Regions from separate parts of the Homo sapiens genome. Here all the other regions are linked to region 2. Evidence: promoter capture Hi-C in 16 types of primary human blood cells and fetal thymus (Javierre and others, 2016). All regions are on one chromosome and are shown on one strand. Each heading gives the region's core, a stretch centred on a gene start or on the middle of the fragment in contact. The rest is flanking DNA. Distances are from core to core; before and after follow the strand shown. Region 1 has its middle 79 kb from the start of HMG20A. Region 2 holds the start of PSTPIP1 (proline-serine-threonine phosphatase interacting protein 1). Region 3 overlaps HMG20A (high mobility group 20A). Region 4 overlaps PEAK1 (pseudopodium enriched atypical kinase 1). Region 5 overlaps HMG20A (high mobility group 20A).

Evidence for each region. The method cuts DNA at HindIII sites, captures the fragments that hold promoters and counts their contacts. A CHiCAGO score of 5 or more calls a contact.
Region 1: a contact is called between a fragment that was not itself captured here and the fragment with the promoter of PSTPIP1 in region 2, in 8 of 17 cell types (monocytes, naive CD4 T cells, total CD4 T cells and 5 more). The highest score is 8.3, in monocytes.
Region 3: a fragment that was not itself captured here is called in contact with the fragment with the promoter of PSTPIP1 in region 2 in 7 of 17 cell types (naive CD8 T cells, naive CD4 T cells, naive B cells and 4 more); the score reaches 8.8 in naive CD8 T cells.
Region 4: a fragment that was not itself captured here is called in contact with the fragment with the promoter of PSTPIP1 in region 2 in 1 of 17 cell types (monocytes); the score reaches 5.2 in monocytes.
Region 5: a contact is called between a fragment that was not itself captured here and the fragment with the promoter of PSTPIP1 in region 2, in 7 of 17 cell types (naive CD4 T cells, total CD8 T cells, total CD4 T cells and 4 more). The highest score is 9.9, in naive CD4 T cells.

The regions. Positions count from the first base shown.
Region 1 is chr15:77,498,235-77,502,185 of GRCh38, reverse strand. It overlaps a transcript of HMG20A not described here. Among named protein-coding and RNA genes, the nearest start is that of HMG20A, 79 kb to the right of the region's middle. The HindIII fragment of the contact is 5,925 bases long and covers 1-3,951 here.
Region 2 is chr15:76,993,648-76,997,342 of GRCh38, reverse strand. PSTPIP1 (proline-serine-threonine phosphatase interacting protein 1) reads right to left here and starts at 2,217. Exons shown (of 15, transcript NM_003978.5): 1 at 1,734-2,217. The coding sequence starts at 1,769. RefSeq lists a silencer at 2,033-2,222 and an enhancer at 2,463-2,512. The HindIII fragment of the contact is 6,151 bases long and covers 1-3,695 here.
Region 3 is chr15:77,476,009-77,479,741 of GRCh38, reverse strand. It overlaps HMG20A (high mobility group 20A), which reads right to left. Exons shown (of 10, transcript NM_001304504.2): 7 at 2,112-2,187; 8 at 1,232-1,447; 9 at 421-563. The coding sequence ends at 427. Among named protein-coding and RNA genes, the nearest start is that of HMG20A, 57 kb to the right of the region's middle. The HindIII fragment of the contact is 978 bases long and covers 983-1,960 here.
Region 4 is chr15:77,407,762-77,411,292 of GRCh38, reverse strand. All of the region lies in intron 1 of PEAK1 (pseudopodium enriched atypical kinase 1), which reads left to right. Among named protein-coding and RNA genes, the nearest start is that of PEAK1, 11 kb to the left of the region's middle. The HindIII fragment of the contact is 4,304 bases long and covers 1-3,531 here.
Region 5 is chr15:77,456,080-77,459,812 of GRCh38, reverse strand. HMG20A (high mobility group 20A) reads right to left here. Exons shown (of 10, transcript NM_001304504.2): 2 at 1,317-1,409. The coding sequence starts at 1,405. Among named protein-coding and RNA genes, the nearest start is that of HMG20A, 37 kb to the right of the region's middle. The HindIII fragment of the contact is 878 bases long and covers 1,268-2,145 here.

The DNA of each region.
Region 1 (3,951 bases), core at 436-2,935, 510 kb before region 2:
AGCATGGCCGTATTTCATACAACTTTATTTATAGACACTGATATTTGAATTTTATGTAATTTTCATGTGTCACCAAATATTCTTCTTTTGATTTTTTTCAACTACTTAAAAATATAAAAAATTATTCTTTGCCTACAGGCGGTAGAGAAACATATGGGCCAGATTTGGCTCATGGACCATACTTCACCCATTTCTGATCTAGGGGCGAGATGAAAGCTGGGCCTGGAAAGGGATGCTGGGGCCAGATCATGCCAGGCATTGAATACATGGTTAAGGCATCTGGTGTTTCTCCAAGGTTAAGTCAGAGGTAGGAATGCATGATATTCAGATATCCCCAGATTTGCCCCCTCTTCTAAGGCACCTTCCCTCCTAGAGAGTGGCTCCCAACATCCCAAGAAGGGGATCCTTCGTTATGTTGCCTTTTAGTGAACAGAGAAAGACTGAAGGAGGAAGGGTCTGGGGGTACACCTGGGAGTCAATTGTTAGGCTTTCAAGCCCAAAGTACCTAAGGATGATCTAAGTGAGATGTCAAATAGCTGTCACATATCTGAATCTAGAGCTGAGAGCTGAAGATAGTGGTCCTGCTTTAAATGATGGGAATAGACAAGTCTCTTCAGGAAGGAATGTAGAGGGAAGAGAATGCAACCCAGGTCGGAGCTCTGAGGTTCTCTACTTCCAGGGCTCAGATGGAGTCCCAAGAGAGCCTGAGAGGCAAAAGAAAGCAGGAGACTGTGATGGCAGAAGCCGAGGGAGAGGAGTCACTTAAAAGAAGGGAGGAAATCATGCCCAGTGCTGCTGCAACTTTTGGAGGCTGAGGACAAGAGAGTGTTCTGGTAATGAGGAGATCTCTCAAGAAGTTGCCAGGAGCAACTTCAATGGGGTGGTGGGTGTGGAAATCAGAGAGAGTGGAGGTGATGCAAACAAGTCTTCAGAGACATTCTAACCTTTGCAAGACAGATGAAATGAAGCATTAGTCATAGGGAAGGATGCAGGACTGAACTAAACTCAACAGACTTACTACTGAGTGCTTACTTTGTCCCAGGCACAGTGCCAGGTTTGGAGATACAAAGATGAGAAGAGACAGGACTGAATAGCCACACACCAATATGATCAGTATCAGAATAGGCATACGTAACAAGTGGTGCTGGCAAGAGGGATGCTGGAGCCGTGAATTCTGAGTTTGGGGATCAGGAAAAGCATCACAGAATGGGTGCTATCTGATCTGGGCTTGCAGAGCAGGAAGGACAAGGTAAGAAAAGCCTTGCCAAGCAGTAGGAAAGAGGATTTCAAAAAGAAAGTTTAAAAAAGAACAGGGAGGGCCAGGCGCGGTGGCTCATGCCTGTAATCCCAGCACTTTGGGAGGCCAAGGCAGGTGGATCCCCTGAGGTCAGGAGTTCAAGACCAGCCTGGCCAACATGGTGAAACCCTGTCTCTACTAAAAATATAAAAATTAGCCGGTCATGGTGGTAGGCACCTGTAATCCCAGCTACTTGGGAGGCTGAGGCAGGAGAACCGCTTGAACTCGGGAGGCGGAGGTTGCAGTGAGCCAAGATCGTGTCATTGCACTCCAGCCTGGGAGACAAGAGCACAAGAGCTGGACTTTGTCTCAAAAAAAAAAAAAAGAACAGGGAGGGTTTGGGGAACAGCGAGTGGTCTGATGTTGCCTAATGGGTAGTGGTGATAATGGGCCACACAGTAACAGGAGATGCATTTGGAGACATACGCCACCCACTATGGGATAGGCCCTTGCACCCTGCTGAAGAGACTGAAGTTTATAGAAAAGGGGGAATATAAAGAATATAACATTGGTCCACCTGCTCTGTGCCAGGTACCTTAAATACTTTCGAACATGGGTTTTGCAGTACAAAGCAGACCTGAGTTCAAATTCTGGTTCTGCAAGGTGTAATAGCTATGTGGCTTTAGGTCCTTTAACCTAGCTAAGTCTTAGTTTCATCTTAGTTTCATGCTAATAATTCTTATCGTATAGAATTTTTGTAAGGCTTAAAAACAAAAGCAACTACCACAACTATGATCTCATTTAAAATAGAGTGATATGGCTGGGCGCAGTGGCTCACGCTTGTAATCCCAGCACTTTGGGAGGCCGAGGCGGGTGGATCATTTGAGGTCAGGAGTTCAAGACCAGCGTGGCCAACATGGTGAAACCCTGTCTCTACTAAAAATACAAAAATTAGCTGGGCATGGTGGTGTGCCCCTGTAGTCCCAGCTATTAGGGAGGGCTGAGGCAGGAGAATCCCTTGAACCTGGGAGGCGGAGGTTGCAGTGAGCCAGGATCGTGCTGCTGCACTCCAGGCTGGGCGACAGAGTGAGACCCTGTCTCAAAAAAAAAAAAAGAAAAGAAAAAGATATTTGCAAGACTAATCTTGCATTTTAGAAAAGTTGCTTTTGTAGTGGTGTGCAGGACGAACTGGTGGAGGGGAGTTAAGAGGGGGACAAATGAGACTGGCTATACTAAGTCTAGTTAGAAGGCTATTATAGAACTAGTTAATAGCAAAAAAGAGGAAAAACAAAACAATGGGCTATTAGGAGAGCCCCAGGAGAGCTGAAAGCTGAAGACCCCCACAAAGGCCTGTCCTGGAGGTGTTGAGAAGGGCCAGCTGTTAGGGGGATTCCAGGGCTCTGTGTGTGTGTGTGGGGGGGAGCATTCTGTGAATGAGATGTGGAGGGCTGGGAGCAGGGTAAAGAGCTGGGGAGAGGCGTGTAGGATTCCAGGCTCTCCAGCTTCAGAGAGCAGTGGAGTTTTTAACTGAGCTGACAGGTATTAGAGAAAATGTGGGTTTGGGAAGAATACATATTTAATTTTGGACAAATTGAGTTGAGGATTCTGCAGGATGCCAGATGGAGAAGCCCTGAGGGAGCTGGAAAGAGAGATCAGGAACTCCAGCAAGGGCGACTCAGCTCTGAGCTGTTTTATGCAGGAGGGAAGGCCTGGCACTGGAGGAGGAATGCCAAGGTCCAGATGATGTTTGAGCATCCTAAGTGTCGGGATTTTAGATCAGGTGGGAATAACGGAAGGCACAGTTCCCACAGAATGGTAGAATGTATTAGAATAGTATGTGCTTCATTTATTTTCCTGGAGACTTGGAGATTGAGAGCTAGAAGGGGTCATCCAGTCCTATATGAAGTCTTCAGCACCTTCTAGGGCCAGGCCCTGAGAATAAGTAAGTGGGGAGACAAGAAAGTCTTCCCAAGAGTAGAATGCCAGCCAATAAAGGTGGAAGGAATAATGGACTTATAAAAAAATCACAACAGCATGGTGAAGATTCAGACTGATTAGTGGATTTTATAGTCCTATTCAAATCCCCAAGGTTTTAGTGGAGAGATGGAGATCCGAAGGGGTTAAGTGGCTTCCGAGGTGATGCTGAAGTGGCCCAGTTGGGAATAATAGGACGGTGTCTTTGTAGAACCCAGGAAAATGTTTTTCCACTATGAGATTGTTGTATGCCTTTTGAGATACATGGGGCAGATTAAAATCTTCATTTCACAGATGTGAAAAATGTCTCCAGGAGCTGAGGAGACCTGCTTCAGGCTGCACCAGTGCTAACAAGCGGCAGAACCGGATGTGAACCCCAGAGTTCCCATCTCCCACGGCATGCAGAACTTCTTCGGCTACCTGAGCTACAGGAACCCTGGGAAGCAGGGCCAGAGGTGCCTGGGGACTGCAGCCCACTGGGGTGGGCATGGGGAAAGAGGAATATCATTTCTGGTTCAAGTTGCTAGTTTTGCAGAGTGTAAAATTACTGCACAGGCCCCAGAGAATAAACAGAGTTAACACCCCATTAAATACAATGGACTTTCAACGTGAGCTCTAGACGTGCCTAGATTGAAACTAGCTGAGCAAGAGCTGGCCCGTGAGTAAAATGTATCACATGCACTCCCTTAATGCTTCCAAAGAGAAAAATCCAGCGCAGGGAGAAGAAAGTGCCGGCAGCA
Region 2 (3,695 bases), core at 968-3,467:
CTCAGTGTGAGAGGTTCCCACTGGCTACTTCTCTCCCCTTCCTGCTCTGGCCTTCCCTAGGGAAACTATATGCCCGCCCCAGGCTCAGGGAGCCAGACACAGAGGAGACAAGGCACTTGGAGGCCAGGAAGCCCAGAGGTGCGACGAGCACAGAGTGTGGGCAGGATGCCGCTCAGGAAGCTCCACAGGGGCTGGCTGCTTGCTTCTGCTGCGGCTGCCATACCCTGCTCCCTTATACGCCACCCCTACCTGTGCCCAGATCCTGCCATGGAGGCTGCTCCTTGCCCAGCTCTGCCCTAGGGAAGGCAGGCCCAGGGGCTCTAGGACTGGACAGAGGTCTCAGTGATAAAATAGTCAAGGGGTCCTGGCCTGCCCTGGGCTACAGAGTGGCCTGGGTTTCCAGGCCCTACCCCTTCCCCCAACTTTGCACACCAAGGCAGGGCAGCTAGGTGGTGACTCACATCCCCCATCCCCCAGGGCTCCAGCTGCCAGCCTGGGCCCTGAGCATCCTGGTGCCTGGTCCTCCGGATGGGCTGAGGCAGCTCTGCCTCCATTGGCTTCTCTGGGCTGGGCCCACCCTGTCTTTGTAGAGATGGGGAAACTGAGGCCCAGAAAGGCACAAGGTGCCCTCCCCACGTGGGGTCCTTTGCCTACTGTACAGTCAGAGCAGAGGAAGCAGAACACTCACACGCTGGCCACAGGCCCCAAGTGGAGCCGGCCGGAAGGGAAGGAAGGCCTGGCTCCATAGCTCTCATCCTCCTGGCTGCAGCCCCAGGAAAAGGCCCGGGGAGGGCAGGGCTGTTGGCTGGGGCTCAGCCGGCTGAGCCGAGGGCCAGAGCGTCCTCTTCGGGGTTGGAGGCAGCACCCCGGGACAGCCACATTCCCCAGCTCCAACCAGAGAGGTCTCAGTTTTTCCCCAGAGCCCTGGGCACAGCCAGAGCTGAGGGGCAGAGGGGTAGTTGAAGGACAGCTGGAAAAGTGCTGAGATGACCAGGGGTCCAAGCTGGGCTGCAGGCTACGTGGCCCGGGCCAAGCCACTTTACCTCTACCACTGGCTGGGCGCCCTTATTTCATGGGGGAAATGACTTGATTTAAGCCCGTGTTGAATTTAAGAAAGTAAGCAAGCCATTGCCCACCTGGCTGCCTCCTTGAAGGACCCCTAAGGTCTGCAAGGGACAAGGGGCTGGGTGAGGGGAACAGAATTACCATTTGGAGTGAGGCAAGGTGCTGGGGGCTTTAGTGCCTTGGATCCCCTTGCTGATCCAATGCTTTAGTTGGTGTGTTGATTTCTATTTTATCACCATTATATAGATGGAGAGACTGAGGCTTGGAGACAGAAATGACTTGCCCAGCCTGTAACAGAGCCAAGACCTGAACTCAAGTTTGTCTGGTCTCTAAATCTGTGACCCCTCCTTTGCTGCCCCACACATCCTCCTCAAGCCCCCACCCATGTGTTACCCTCTTCTGAGGAGCTCCTGCTGTGGGGAGAGGTCTCCCAGAGGAGAAAACACACGGGGCAGCAGAGAGGAGGACGCTCATTCACGGAGTCCACTTGCGTTCCAGTCCAGAAGGGGTGGGGGCCTGGGCCACCTCCATGACAATTAAGACCAAGAATCAACCACTATTTTATGAGAAAGCTCCCCTCTCGGAGCCGCATCCCATCACCTGCATGGAGATTTCAGCCTAGCTCTGCCCCCTCCACTTGTTCAGTGCCCCCAACCATCCTCACTCACCCAAAAGGCATCTTTGAACTGCAGCTGGGGCATCATCCTCAGGCGTCTGCCGCGGCAAAGCTCACTCTCCTGCCACAGGCTGGCCTGATGGAGGGCCAGGCGCCAGCAGCAGCGTCCCAGTCCTGGCAGGGCTGGCCCAGGCCCCCCTTCCCGGCCGGCGCCGTCTGCAACACTCAGAAGGCAGCCACGAGCCAGAGAGGAGCTTCTGAGGGGAGGAAAAAGCTCAACCTGTTTTGTTTGGGGCTAGAATCAGCAGCAAAATGAGGAAGGAGTGGAGCTCAGTGATGGGAGGGCGGGCCCTGGTGTCCAGCCCAGCCCCTCACCGACCCTGCGGTGATGGAGGACACAGTCTGGGACCCAGGGCAGGGAGCAGGGATGCCAGCCCTGGGTGGGAGGCAGTGGCCAGTGGAAGAGGCAGGCTGGAGCTCGGGCCGGGCCAGGCAGGCAGGCAGGCAGGCAGCCCGAGGCCTGCGCAGGAAGGTTTGTGCAACCTCCCCCGGGGCAGGCACAGGGCCCTCGCCCACAGGAAGTGGAGTTGCTGTGCTCCCCTGTGCAGCCCCGCCTGCCACCTGCCATCCTGCTCCTGCCTCTGCTTGCCCCCTCCCGAGGTGCGGGCTCACTTTATTCCAGAGGCCATATGCTAAGGGAGCTTGAGGCCCACTGACAGTGTGGCCAGGAGGGGCCCAGGAACCCCAGGTGTGTCACCCGCCAGCCAGTCCAGCACCCTTCCAGGCTGGGCCCAGAGATGCCAGACTCCCCACCCCGCACTAGCAAGTCATTCTGGAGGGGCTTACCCAGGTCTAGGGCATCTGTCATTCATCAAACCCTGGCTGCTCTGGGACCCAAACCAGGTCCTGCCCTCAAGGAGCCCATAGTCTGGGAGCAGACACAGCTGTGCTCTGGGGGGCTGTGAGCACACAGAGGCAAGGTGAGCAGGCAGCAAGATGAGGGAGAACAGCCTGAGGCCCCGGCACTGCCCCCACCACCACCACCGCCACCACCGCAAGTCTCCAGATTAGACGCTGTTTGGGGCAGAGAACCCCCTTCTGAAGATGGAGGCTTCCGGCTCAGTGAATGGGAATGGATGGAGAGAGAAACAGGATTATCAAGGCACAGAGTGGGGTGTTTGGAAACCCAGTCTGAGGCCCAGTTTTTGTTTAATTTTGACCCCACCTTTCAGGGGCTGAGGGACCTTAATAGACCCCCCAACTCGCTGAGCCTCAGCTTCCTCATCTGCCACACCCAGTCTTTGGAAAGTAGACGGTGTCGAGAATATTTCTGGAATTTCCAGTTTGGTGGGCAGGTGCTGGGGGCACTGTGTGGTACCACCTTAGGAAGAGCCCTGGACTAGAGCCCCAGCCCCAGCCCTGAGACGCCACGCCCTGCCGGCTCAGCAGAAGATGCAGCAGGAAGTCCTGAGCCCAGGGCAGGCTGGCAAAATGGGGTGAGTCAGGGATTGTCCGCAAATCACCACCCTCACTGATGTCTGCCTTACAGCTGACGGGGTGATAAGATGAGAGCTGCTGCAGATGAAATAGTTGAGCTCCCAAGTGCCCATTATGCATGCCCAGGGTTTAGAGAGAGGGGGCACACCCAGGCTCTGAAATAGCCACCCAAGAGGAAACACTTTGGGGAGGATTGCAGAGCAATGGGACTGCCCCCAGAAGGCCCTCACCTCCAGAAACCTTGGATTTGAGCTAATCTTTAATCTGTAAGGCGCCCCAGTCAGGTTTTTTGTTACTTGCAGCTGAAGACAATTAATAGTGTAAAAATCCCCTTGAACTTTGTAGGCCATAGAGTGAGCCAGGCTGCACCTCACCTCCCAATGGCACCACCACCTCTGATAGCACTGGCTCAGCCTCCCTGAGCTCAGTTTCTCCATCCATCAGATGGGATGATGCCTCTAGGTCTGGAGCAGACTAGAGACCCTCTGTTAACAGAAGGCTCCTGCCTGCTTATTGG
Region 3 (3,733 bases), core at 222-2,721, 480 kb before region 2:
TCACTTTTCAAAACCTTTTGGGAAACTAATGCCCAAGAATACAGCTAATAAGTGACAAAGCTAGAAATGAGGTCAAGCCACAAAAACCATGCTTTTCCCATTAAACCATTCTGAAGCAAGCATAAGAAAAAACTGTCTTGAGTCTGTTTTCTTTTATTTTTAGAGACAGGATCTCTCTGGACTTGAACTGCTGGGCTCAAGCAATCCTCCCACCTCAGCCTCCCAAGTAGCTGGGACTACAGTGATTCTCTTTTCTAATATTATTTACTACATTTAACAACCATGCAACAGGAATCTTAACCAAGTCTCCAACTTGTTCATCCAATGTAATCCCAGGGTTTTAGTAGTATTGATAAAGTCTGATGACATCTTATTTTTGATGATGTGCTGGCATATAAATATTTATCAGTGAGCACTCACCATTCCCTAACGATCGAGTCTGTTCACAACTTCTCGAACTGTAGCTATGAAGTTTTCATTGTCTTGGGGATTAGCTAAAATAATACTGTGCAGTCTGTTCATATATGAGTCAATGGTGTCCACTGTAGGTGTCTCTCCACTTCCTGAAGTGAGATAAGAAGAAAGTAAGAAAATCCTCCCTATTCAGTTGTACCATAAAACACAATTTCAAAGAAACAGTGATTCTAATGTGGTCTGCTCCACAGACATGCTTTTAATTTTAGAGGAGAGACTTTTAGATCTCAAAGAAATGAAATTAGTCCACATACTCTAAATAAACAGATGGGCTATATAATTGCTGTATAGTATATATGAGCAGCTGCATGTAACAGAAGGTTAGACTCGCTCAGCTTTCTGCTATGACTATCTTCAAAATGAAAGAGTATATAAGAAATACCAGTGTTCATTCTCCCTTCCTTCCCGTTAAAACAAAAACAACTAAAAAGCAAACAAACATACATAAGAAGAAACACTCTCAAGATTTACTACTCAGTTTCCAGTGTTCTGAATAGCAAATTAAGCTTAAAAGAGGGGAAAATAGATATTAAAATATAAATGGACAAAAATTTGAATGACCAGAGAGCCTGAAACATTGGACGATTTTAGCCAATACTGACATTCTATTATATCCAGAGAAGAAAAAATGTAGTTTAATTAATTTTCCTCTGGAGGAGATTTCAATCTCTCCACACCAGTACTAACATAAACAGCACCCCACTCCACACAACACACACACCCCTGTCACTGACAGTTCTCAGGCAGGAGGACTTACCAGGCAAGGGCATGCTGGCAAAGCTGCTGGTCAGCACCTGCCGCAGGGTCTCCAGGTGCTGCTGTAAGACTGTGTTGCGGCTCCGCTCCTGGATCACATCCACCTCCAGCTTCTCCACTGCTGTGCGCATGCTCTCCACGTGCTTTTGCAGGGCTGCATTCCTCTCCTCAAACTCCATGTTGGATTTGCGAAGCTGGCGGAGCTCTGCTTCCCGAGCTGAGGACATACATCCCACAGAACACATGCAGCACTAGAAGGAGTCTCTGAGGAGTCCCAATGACTCTTACAGGGAAGTTCTGCTTAGCTGCCTCTAATTTAGCTACCCCACCTCATCTCCCTATTCTCATTATGGCATTCCAGATAGCAATTTCAGCAATGAAACGCCTGACTCCCCAGAGCTATTTTAATTCTTAAAGCTAGTCACATTCCATACATAAGATTGCAACAAACAGTTTCAATTCCCAGTATTTTTTTGTTTGTTAGTTTTTGCTTTTTAAATTGTACAATCAGAAGCCTGAGGGGTTTTGCAGGGGGATCCTGGGAGACTGGCCAAGCACAGCTGTAGGTACCCATCTTTACCACAATGGGATCAGACTTGCTCTTACTTATTTTATATTTTGGACTCCCATGTAAGTTTTTATTTGTGCAAGGGGTTCCAGGCTAAGAGTTTGAAGACAAGTGAATTTGTGATTTGCATTTATTTCCTTTCATCCAGAGACCAAAGAAGCTTTGACAACAATGCCCTAGCTTTCCTTCACTGGTCTTTGAGTAGTCCTAAGGAGGGATAACACTACCATTGCTTTTGAGCAATGAATTTCTTCTGAGAACTAAGTCCCCTGTCAAAAATCTGAGAAACACAAAAAGAAACTTCAGTAATCACCTTTGCTATGGTTCAAGAATTCCTCTGTAAATATAGGGATGTCAAAAACAGACCGTTCCTTTACCTCTGTTTCTTTCTGTGAATCAAGAGGAACAAAACAGTTAATTCTTAATAGAAGATAAATTAAATAATAGTGCCTGAAGACAATGATCATGTCTTCTTTAAAGAAAGAATAGGGTGAGCAGGAATCAGTCCAGGTGAGTCTGTGAGGGAAATGTATTCATCTTTTCATTGGAATCCAACTTTCACAGAGCTTAAGCAGGTAAAGTATTCACTTCTCTCAGGTATACAACTACTGTGCAATTAGAAACCTTAAAACAAAGTTACGTAAATTTCCCTAATGGAGAATTTGAAGCCATTTCTTAGCCTTGTGTTTTGAATAGTCAACAGTATACAGTTGTGAAAGTGATTGCAGTGGGAATTGAGAAAGAGTAGTTTTTTTTCAGTCACTTTTGTTGGTTATGCATGTAAAATGCTCCCTGAGATAAGATTATGCAATATAAATTTGCAGAGTGGACAATAAGAATTTTAAGCAGAAATGTAACTGCTATGAGCAATAATTATGATATTCCATTGGTACTTCTATTTACTTAAGAGAGGCAGCCTATCTTTGGGGTCTTTTAGATTTTCTTTAGACACAGGAAAAATAAACAAACAAACACATGAGACCGAGAAATCAGAAATAACCAGGCTCTAAAAATTAGAAAGCAAACGATTATGTGAGATACAAAAGAATAACAAAGCCTAAAATTAATTCACCAATAAGCCATTAAAAATAAAAAAGCCTCACAAGATCATTGCAAAATATATTCCACAATGATCTTTAAGAATAAAGTCAATAACTCAAGATGCTTTGGCTGTCGTTTCTAAAATGAATTTGAAGTTGAAAGCATTGTGAATATTAATTTTAAGTGTGTTGGCATAATGTTCAAAATTTTCCATAACAAAGGTGGTAAAATGGCAGGAAGTGAGAAATGAAGAAACTGCTAGTGAAATCTTAAGATCCCAGGACCTTTATAACATGAAAAACATGCAAACATAATACCTAGATTTCATTCCTATAAACAATTGTTTAAAGCTAGACAGAATGTATCTTTCCTACTCTTGTCACCACTAGCTTTTTTTTTTTTTTTTTTTTTTTTTTCTGAGAGGGAGTCCCTCTCTGTTGCCCAGGGTGGAGTACAGTGGCACGATCTCAGCTCACTGCAACCTCTGTCTCCCAGGTTCAAGCAATTCTCCTGCCTCAGCCTCCCAAGTCACTGGGATTACAGGTGCCCACCACCATGCCTGGCTAATTTTCTGTATTTTTTTAGTAGAGACGGGGTTTCGCCATGTTGGCCAGGCTGGTCTTGAACTCCTGACCTCAGGTGATCCACCTGCCTTGGCCTCCCAAAGTGCTGGGATTACAGGCTTGAGCCACCGTGCCCAGCCTCCACTAGTTTTTTAAATCTTTGAACACAAAAATGACTTGGTGCCCAGTAGAAAAGCTAAGCAGTTCACAGCTTAAGAGGGAAATCTGACACCCGAGCTCCTGTATTCATAACGGTGGCCGCCTAGTAAGGGGGCTGGGCTGTGTGAACCACCTGCCAATGGCAGCTGAGCAAGAAAGACACTGAAAAGCT
Region 4 (3,531 bases), core at 602-3,101, 410 kb before region 2:
GCTCTCTGCTACCTTTTCACAATCAATAGGATTTAACTTCAGACTGCATACAATCAAATGTTTCCATTTACAAGCAGGGTTGTAAATCAAGCAGGGTTGGCCTTACCATCTGCCGTGAATTTGCCCCACCTTTTTTTTTTTTTAACTATTTCTTTCACATGTGGTCTTAGACATTCACATTTATCATCTGGTTATTAAAGTCAAACCCAAAATAACAATTTTAGAATTTTAAAAATAATTACAACATGTAGCCTGGTAAACCAAAGTTTTAGTAAAACATTTTAATTTCAACCCCTTTGCATTAAAAATAGGTAGGCTTTCATTGCCAGCTGATAAGAGGTGGTAGTATGGCATGAGGCAGGCAAATAGCACCTATCTAGTAATTATTTAAGTGTCAGTCACTCTTCAGGAACTACAAGAAAAATAACAGGTGTATCTACTTTGTAGGATAGGGGGCAGGTAATTGCAGGATTCCATTCTTATTTCTACCTCCGAATAGTCGACAAAGCTATTATCCAGGTTTATGGACCAGTGTGTTGTATTTATTAGTTGTGAGAAATCTGAGCATATTTATATGCTGAGTGGAAAGAGCCAATGCATTGAGTGCAAAGACTGTATCTTATTAGCACAGTTCCTAACAAGTAGTGGATATTCAAATATTTGTTGAATGAAAGATTTCAATAAGGTACTTTACCCTTATAAAATTTAAGACATGAAGATTTATTTAGCTTGTTCAAGAAAGCTGAAGATATTAAAAATTTTCATTGTTTAAGTCAGAGTTAGTGTAAAACAAAATAAATCTGTAAGGTAACATCCTCATTTTAGGCCAAGCCAAACAAATCATACCACTTTGTAAAAACATGATCACAGACGGGTGCGATGGCTCACACCTGTAATCCCAGCATTTTGGGAGGCCAAGGCAGGCAGATCACCTGAGGTCGAGAGTTCGAGACCAGCCTGACCCACATGGAGAAAGCCCATCTGTACTAAAAATACAAAATTAGCTGGGCGTGGTGGCGCATGCCTGTAATCCCGGGAGGCTGAGGTAGGAGAATCACTTGGGAGGCTGAGGAGCTACTCAGGAGGCTGAGGCAGGAGAATAACTTGAACCTGGGAGGCAGAGGTTCCAGTGAGCCGAGATCATGGTGAGCCAAGATCGTGCCATTGCACTCCAGCCTGGGCAAAAAGAGCGAAACTCTGTCTAAAAAAAAAAAAAACACACACACACACCAAAAAACAAAACAAAACAAAAAAACCACGATTACTGTCTTTCAAGTAGCTCATAACCTGCCCTCCAAGAATAGTCAAGAATTCTAGTTCAGAAGTCACACTGCCTGGATTTGAATTTACCAGCTCAGCCACTTCCTGGCCATGTGACTTTATGTTAGTTTCTTAACTGTGCTTCAGTTTCCTCATTTGTAAAATAAGGATAATACTTGTACTTACTTTATGGGGTTGTGAGGTGAAATTAGAATATATGTCATGCATATATACAAGTGTTCAGTTTTTAACTGTTATTCTAAAAATGCTAAGAGGCTAGTATCTTAAGGTTTTTTATTTTCTCAAAATTGCATATGCTGAGTGTTAAAGGAAAACAAATCCCTCTGTGAACAAGAAAAAACACTGACAGAAAGTATACCACTATACTCATAATGATATGTTGAGACAGTGAGTAATGGGTTTTCTGCTTTTTGCCATCTCCATTTTTTCTTTTATTTGTTGAACAGATTTTTATTAAATGCTTAACTATGCGTCAAACACTGGGCTTTCATGAGCATGTTACTTTCTGAGAGTAAGCAACATTGTGGTTAAGAACATGGATTTGGGACCCAGACTGCCTGGAGCTGAATCTCATCTTTACCACTTGGGAAAATCACTTTCTTTCCTGGTGCCTTAGTTTTCTTATGTGTAAAATGGGGGAAGTGATAGCATCAACCTCAGAGGGTTTTTAATGAGCTCATATTTGAAAAGTACTTAAAATAATGCCTGAAGCATAGTATCATGTGTGTGCTAAATAATATAAAAGATGATAGAAATATTCCATTTAAAAATAAAGATTTTAATTTTCCCAGTACATTTATACTTTCACCCACATTGACAGGAGCACTTTTATTGTTTAAAGTTAGGGTCCCCTCTTAATTTTCAAAGTAGATTCAGTTTTGTTATCGCAAGGGAAGATGCCATGGTACCACTCTTAAATATTTTTGTGTTTGTTTGTTTTTGAGATGGGGTCTCACTCCGTTACTTAGGCTGGAGTGCAGTGGCATGATCATGGCTCACTGCAGACTTGACCTCCCGGGCTCAAACGATCCTCCCACCTAAGCCTCCTGAGTAACTGGGACCACAGGGGCATGCCACCACATCCGGCTAATTTTTAAAATTATTTTTTGGAGACAGTTTCCCTGTGTTGCCCAGGATGATTGCAAACTCCTGGGCTCAGGTGATCCTCCCGCCTCAGCCTCCCAAAGTGCTGTGATTGCAGGCATGAGCCATCACATCCTGCTTCAATTCTTAAATATTTTGGAATAATTAGTTGAATATTTCAAATGCTGAAAAACTGCCTTCTTTCTAGGCGTGCTACAATATTTGTAGATTTTATTTGAGTATGAAGTAGTTTTTTAATTGTGGAGGTTTGTGTGAAAGAAGAGTTAAGGCATTGGAGAAACAGTAGAAAATATCTTCTAATGCCAGTTCTCTACTTCATTTGAAAAACTGTTTCTGCAGCAGTATTCCTAGACTGTTTTTTTTTTTAAATTTTTATTTCATAGGTTTTCAGGGAACAGGTGGTGGTTGGTTACACAGATAAGTTCTTTAGTGGTGATTTCTGAGATTTTTGGTGCACCCATCGCCAAGCAGTGTACGCTGTACCCCATGTGTACCCCTCACCCCCCTCCCACCCTTCCCCCTGTGTCCCCAAAGTCCATTTTATCATTCTTATGCCTATGCATCCTCATAGCTTAGCTCCCACTTAGAAGTGAAAACTTGTAAGTTCTCAGGTTTTCCATTCCTGAGTTACTTCACTTAGAATAATGGTCTCCAATTCCATCCAGGTTGCTGCCACTGCCATTATTTTGTTCTTTTTTATGGCTGAGTAGTATTCCAGGGTGTGTGTGTGTGTGTGTGTGTGTGTGTGTGTGTATGTATATATGTGTATACATGTGTCTATATGTATATATGTGTATATATGTATATATGTGTGTGTATATATGTGTATATATGTATATATGTGTATCTATGCATGTATGTGTATATATGTATATATGTGTGTATATATGTGTATATGTGTACGTGTGTGTATGTGTATATATGTATATGTGTGTATATATGTGTATATATGTGTGTATATGTGTATATATGTGTGTATATATGTATATATGTGTATATATATGTGTATATATATATATATATATCATGCTTTATCTACTCGGGCATTTGAGCTGGCTCCATATTTTTTTGCAATTGCGAATTGTACTGCTATAAACATGCCTGTGCAAATGTCTTGTTCATATGATGACTTCTTTTCCTCTGGGT
Region 5 (3,733 bases), core at 457-2,956, 460 kb before region 2:
ATCTGCATTTTCATCAGCTCTCTTGGCAATTCATATGTTTGAGAAGGACTGATGTAGTCCTCTACTGCCTCTCCTGCTGCTATGTGCTGCTCTAGTCACACTGTCCTCCTGGCTATTTCGATAAGATGGAAACTCTCCTGCCTCAGGGCTTTTGCACCTACTGCTCCCTCTGTCTAGGATAATCTTCCCCAGAAAACTGCATGCCAGTTGCCTTATTTCCTTCAGGTCTTTATTGAAGTCACTTTCTCATTAAACACTTTCTGGCCCATCCTGTCTAAAACTGCATCCCCAAACCCTTCCTATCCCTTTTCTCCACTTTTTTCTTTTTTTAAACTATAGTTCTTATCAACATAGTATATGTTTTGCTTATTTATCCTGTTTATTGTCTGACTCAACAAGTAGAATTTGAACTTTAAAAGGCCTATGATTTTTATCTATTTTGATCAATGCTTTCTATCTAATGCCTGGAACAATGACACATAGCAGATACTCAGAAAGTTTTTACTGAATGAATATAGTAACTAAGCAGCCTTTAGAAAAGTCTTGGAGAACACTTTCATCTGAGTAGTGAGGTCAAAGGCGGATATCAACGAGGTGAGACATAAATGTGAGGGAAGGAAACAGAATTACAAAGTATAGCCTATTTTTTAAACAGCTCTAAAGAATATTAAAATAATTCATCTTAGGGATTAGCTAGCACTTCAGTCTATTAGTGAACACACTTTCTCTTTGCCAAATAACTTCTAAACATCTAGAAAAGATAAAAATTCAAGTGGAACAGAGATTTTCAAGGGAAGAGGTGGACTACTGTTATTAACCCTTTTCTATATCTCTTTAAATATTTGTCAAAAGATCCCACAGAAAGGAGAAGGGGGTGGGATGGGGAAAGGAACAGAAGTCAGCTAAAGTTACTAAGCATCTTGAATAAAGAACCACATTAAAAAATCTGATCTTTGGGAAAAAACTATTTTAATATCTGTGGTAATTTGAACAGAAAAAATGCATTTGTTTTTTAGAGCTAGCTCTGTGGCAGGTATTTCCTTAATGGTGACTATATAATTTTCTTAACTGGAGTCACCAGTGTTTGCTAGATTCCACATATTGTTGTACCAGTTCACAAAAACCAGAGCACTGCAAAAGATAATTGAATGCAGATTACAAAGTGGTTTATGATGGCTGTCACTCTCTTTGCAAAGTGAAACAAGTGCACCGTCTATTCTTATGATATAAAACTGCCTCTTTAGGACCTCTTACTTTGCTAGAAGCTTTGTTTTGAGGCCTATGGAGAAGTCCAGTGTCCTAAAGCAGCTGCTTACCCAGTGGTAGCCAGATCATTACTCTCCTTGGAACCGTCTTCATCTGCAAAAAGGGGCGGTAGGGTGGAGCTAGTCATCAAGTTTTCCATCTCTCTGAAAGGAAAAGAGAATAAAAAAAAATTAATGGCTTAATTACTTCCATTTCAAGTTCCACTAATTTAAGAGCCAGCCTTCTTGAACTTTATCATATAAGCAACAGAATAAAAACTGACCTAAATATTTATTTTCTTGACTTGGACACATCAATTTAAACTGTATGGTAAATGGGCCTTTTAACCTTGGTCTTATCAACTGACCAGACTGAAAACAAGTTAGGTTTTAACAAATGGGATGTGGTTTGGAAAATTCCTTTTTATTTATCCAGAGTATCTTCAAAAGTATTCATTTCCTGTAGAAATTGTTAAGCAGGGTAACTCAGAAGCACTGCCACTCTGAGCAAGCTATTTAAGCTCTTTGAGCTACAATTTCACCATCTTAGACTAAGACAAAATTGCTGACTTAACCCAAAGGGTTATTGTGAGAGATTAAAATGAAAGTGCTCCATAAACAGAGAAAATCTAAGGTAGTAAGTGCATTGAGTATTATATAAAGAAAGATATTGTTATTACAGCATTACCAGTTCTCAGTCCCAGATGAATCATCTATAGATTAAATGATGGCAAACTGAGCCCTCCAAAAGGAAATAATGCAAAGGAAGTAGAGGATGGAAGGCATGCTGATGTGGCTCTCAGTCAAAGAAACCACACTTCCAGGTCAGAAATATGCTCCACACACCATCATAACCAAGAGCAGAAATAGCATGCACCTGGGTACAGGAAACAACTAAGCTTAATTGAAGAAAACAAACAAATCACAAGAACTGAGGTTATCAGACTGAAAGGATAAAAGGACAAAGTGACAAAGAGAATAATTTCATTTGGCATATCACTATGAAAAACGATTTTTGCCTTTCAAGGCTTACCACAAAGGGCATCACCCCATGTAGTTAAAAGCAGCAGTCTTCCCTTCATCATGAAAGGGATATTCAAACAAAACATTCAGCAGTGACCCCAAACATCAGCCACTTACACAGAACTGCAAAGCACTCAAGAAAGAGTGCCTCAATCAATTGGGAGAATTGAGAAGCAAATTATGAGAATTCACTTAGGAGCTTCCTCAGGAGTTATTTCAGGCGCTGCTGCTGCTAAGGAGACCTGGTGAAACAGCAATTAAAAGGAAAGCACAGCGGCAAAGCAGAGCCAGGATCACTCCACTGAGGTGGAAATATGAAGAAAATGCCGATGACACGAGGACCACATTCTCCATGTTCAATGGAGTGATTTATTTCCAAAAGATAACACTGATGTTTTATTCCTTATTCTTACTTATTCTCACTTCTAAGTTTATTATTTAGCAGGCCAAGTTCCATAAACAGCTTGATGGGAAAAACACATCTCTGTACAAATATTACCCATTACAGTAGGTAGAGCATGGAAGGTAGAGAGGAACTTCTCACTCAACCATCATAAGCACTTTATTCTACTGCAGGAATGCTTGCAACCTCTTTTCAGTTCCTTCAAGATAAGGTGTTTACAAGTGGAATAGCTCTAATAAATACCACAAAATTCCATTCCACATGTTTTACTGAATAACCCTGACTCAAGTGTACTTAAGTTTTAATTCACATTATACAATACAAAGGCGAGATTAAAGCCTGGGCTGCTAACATCACCTCACACCAATGTCAATGTTCATTTTACCAAAAGAAAACTGTAATATCTGTTAGATACCATACAGACTAACCATAGTGAGCAAACATTCAAATGGCCAGGTATATACCTTAGGGAACTCACTTGACTGGCTTTTTTTTTTTTTTTTTTTTTGACAGTCTCGCTCTGTTGCCCACGCCTCCCAGGTTCAGGTGATTCTTGTGCTTCAGCCTCCCAAGTTGCTGGGATTACAGGTACGTGCCACCACACCAGCTAATTTTTGTATTTTTAGTACAGACGGGGTATCACCATGTTGGCCAGGTTGGTCTTGAACTCCTAGCCTCAAGTGATCCGCCCACTTCGGCCTCCCAAAGTGTTAGGATTACAGGTGTGAGCCACTACGCCTGGGATTGACTGGCTTCTTTCTAAAAGTATCCCTAGAAGTCAATGGCCTTTCAAGAACCTTGAGATTCAGCATTTAAAGCTCCTGGCATTGCTCCCATGCCTCAAAAGAAGATATATTATCTGGTGAGGGACAAATGAAGTGTCTTTTCATCCACTATGCCAACATGACCCTGTTAGAGTGTTTTCCAGATATCTTTAGTCATTTCTGAAACGTGGGGAGGCAGCTGGATAACATAACCTTAACAACATATAAACAGATCATATAAACAAAGGAAGTTCAGAGAACACACATTTTTTCCTTTTTTATTTTCCCTCTCTTAAGTT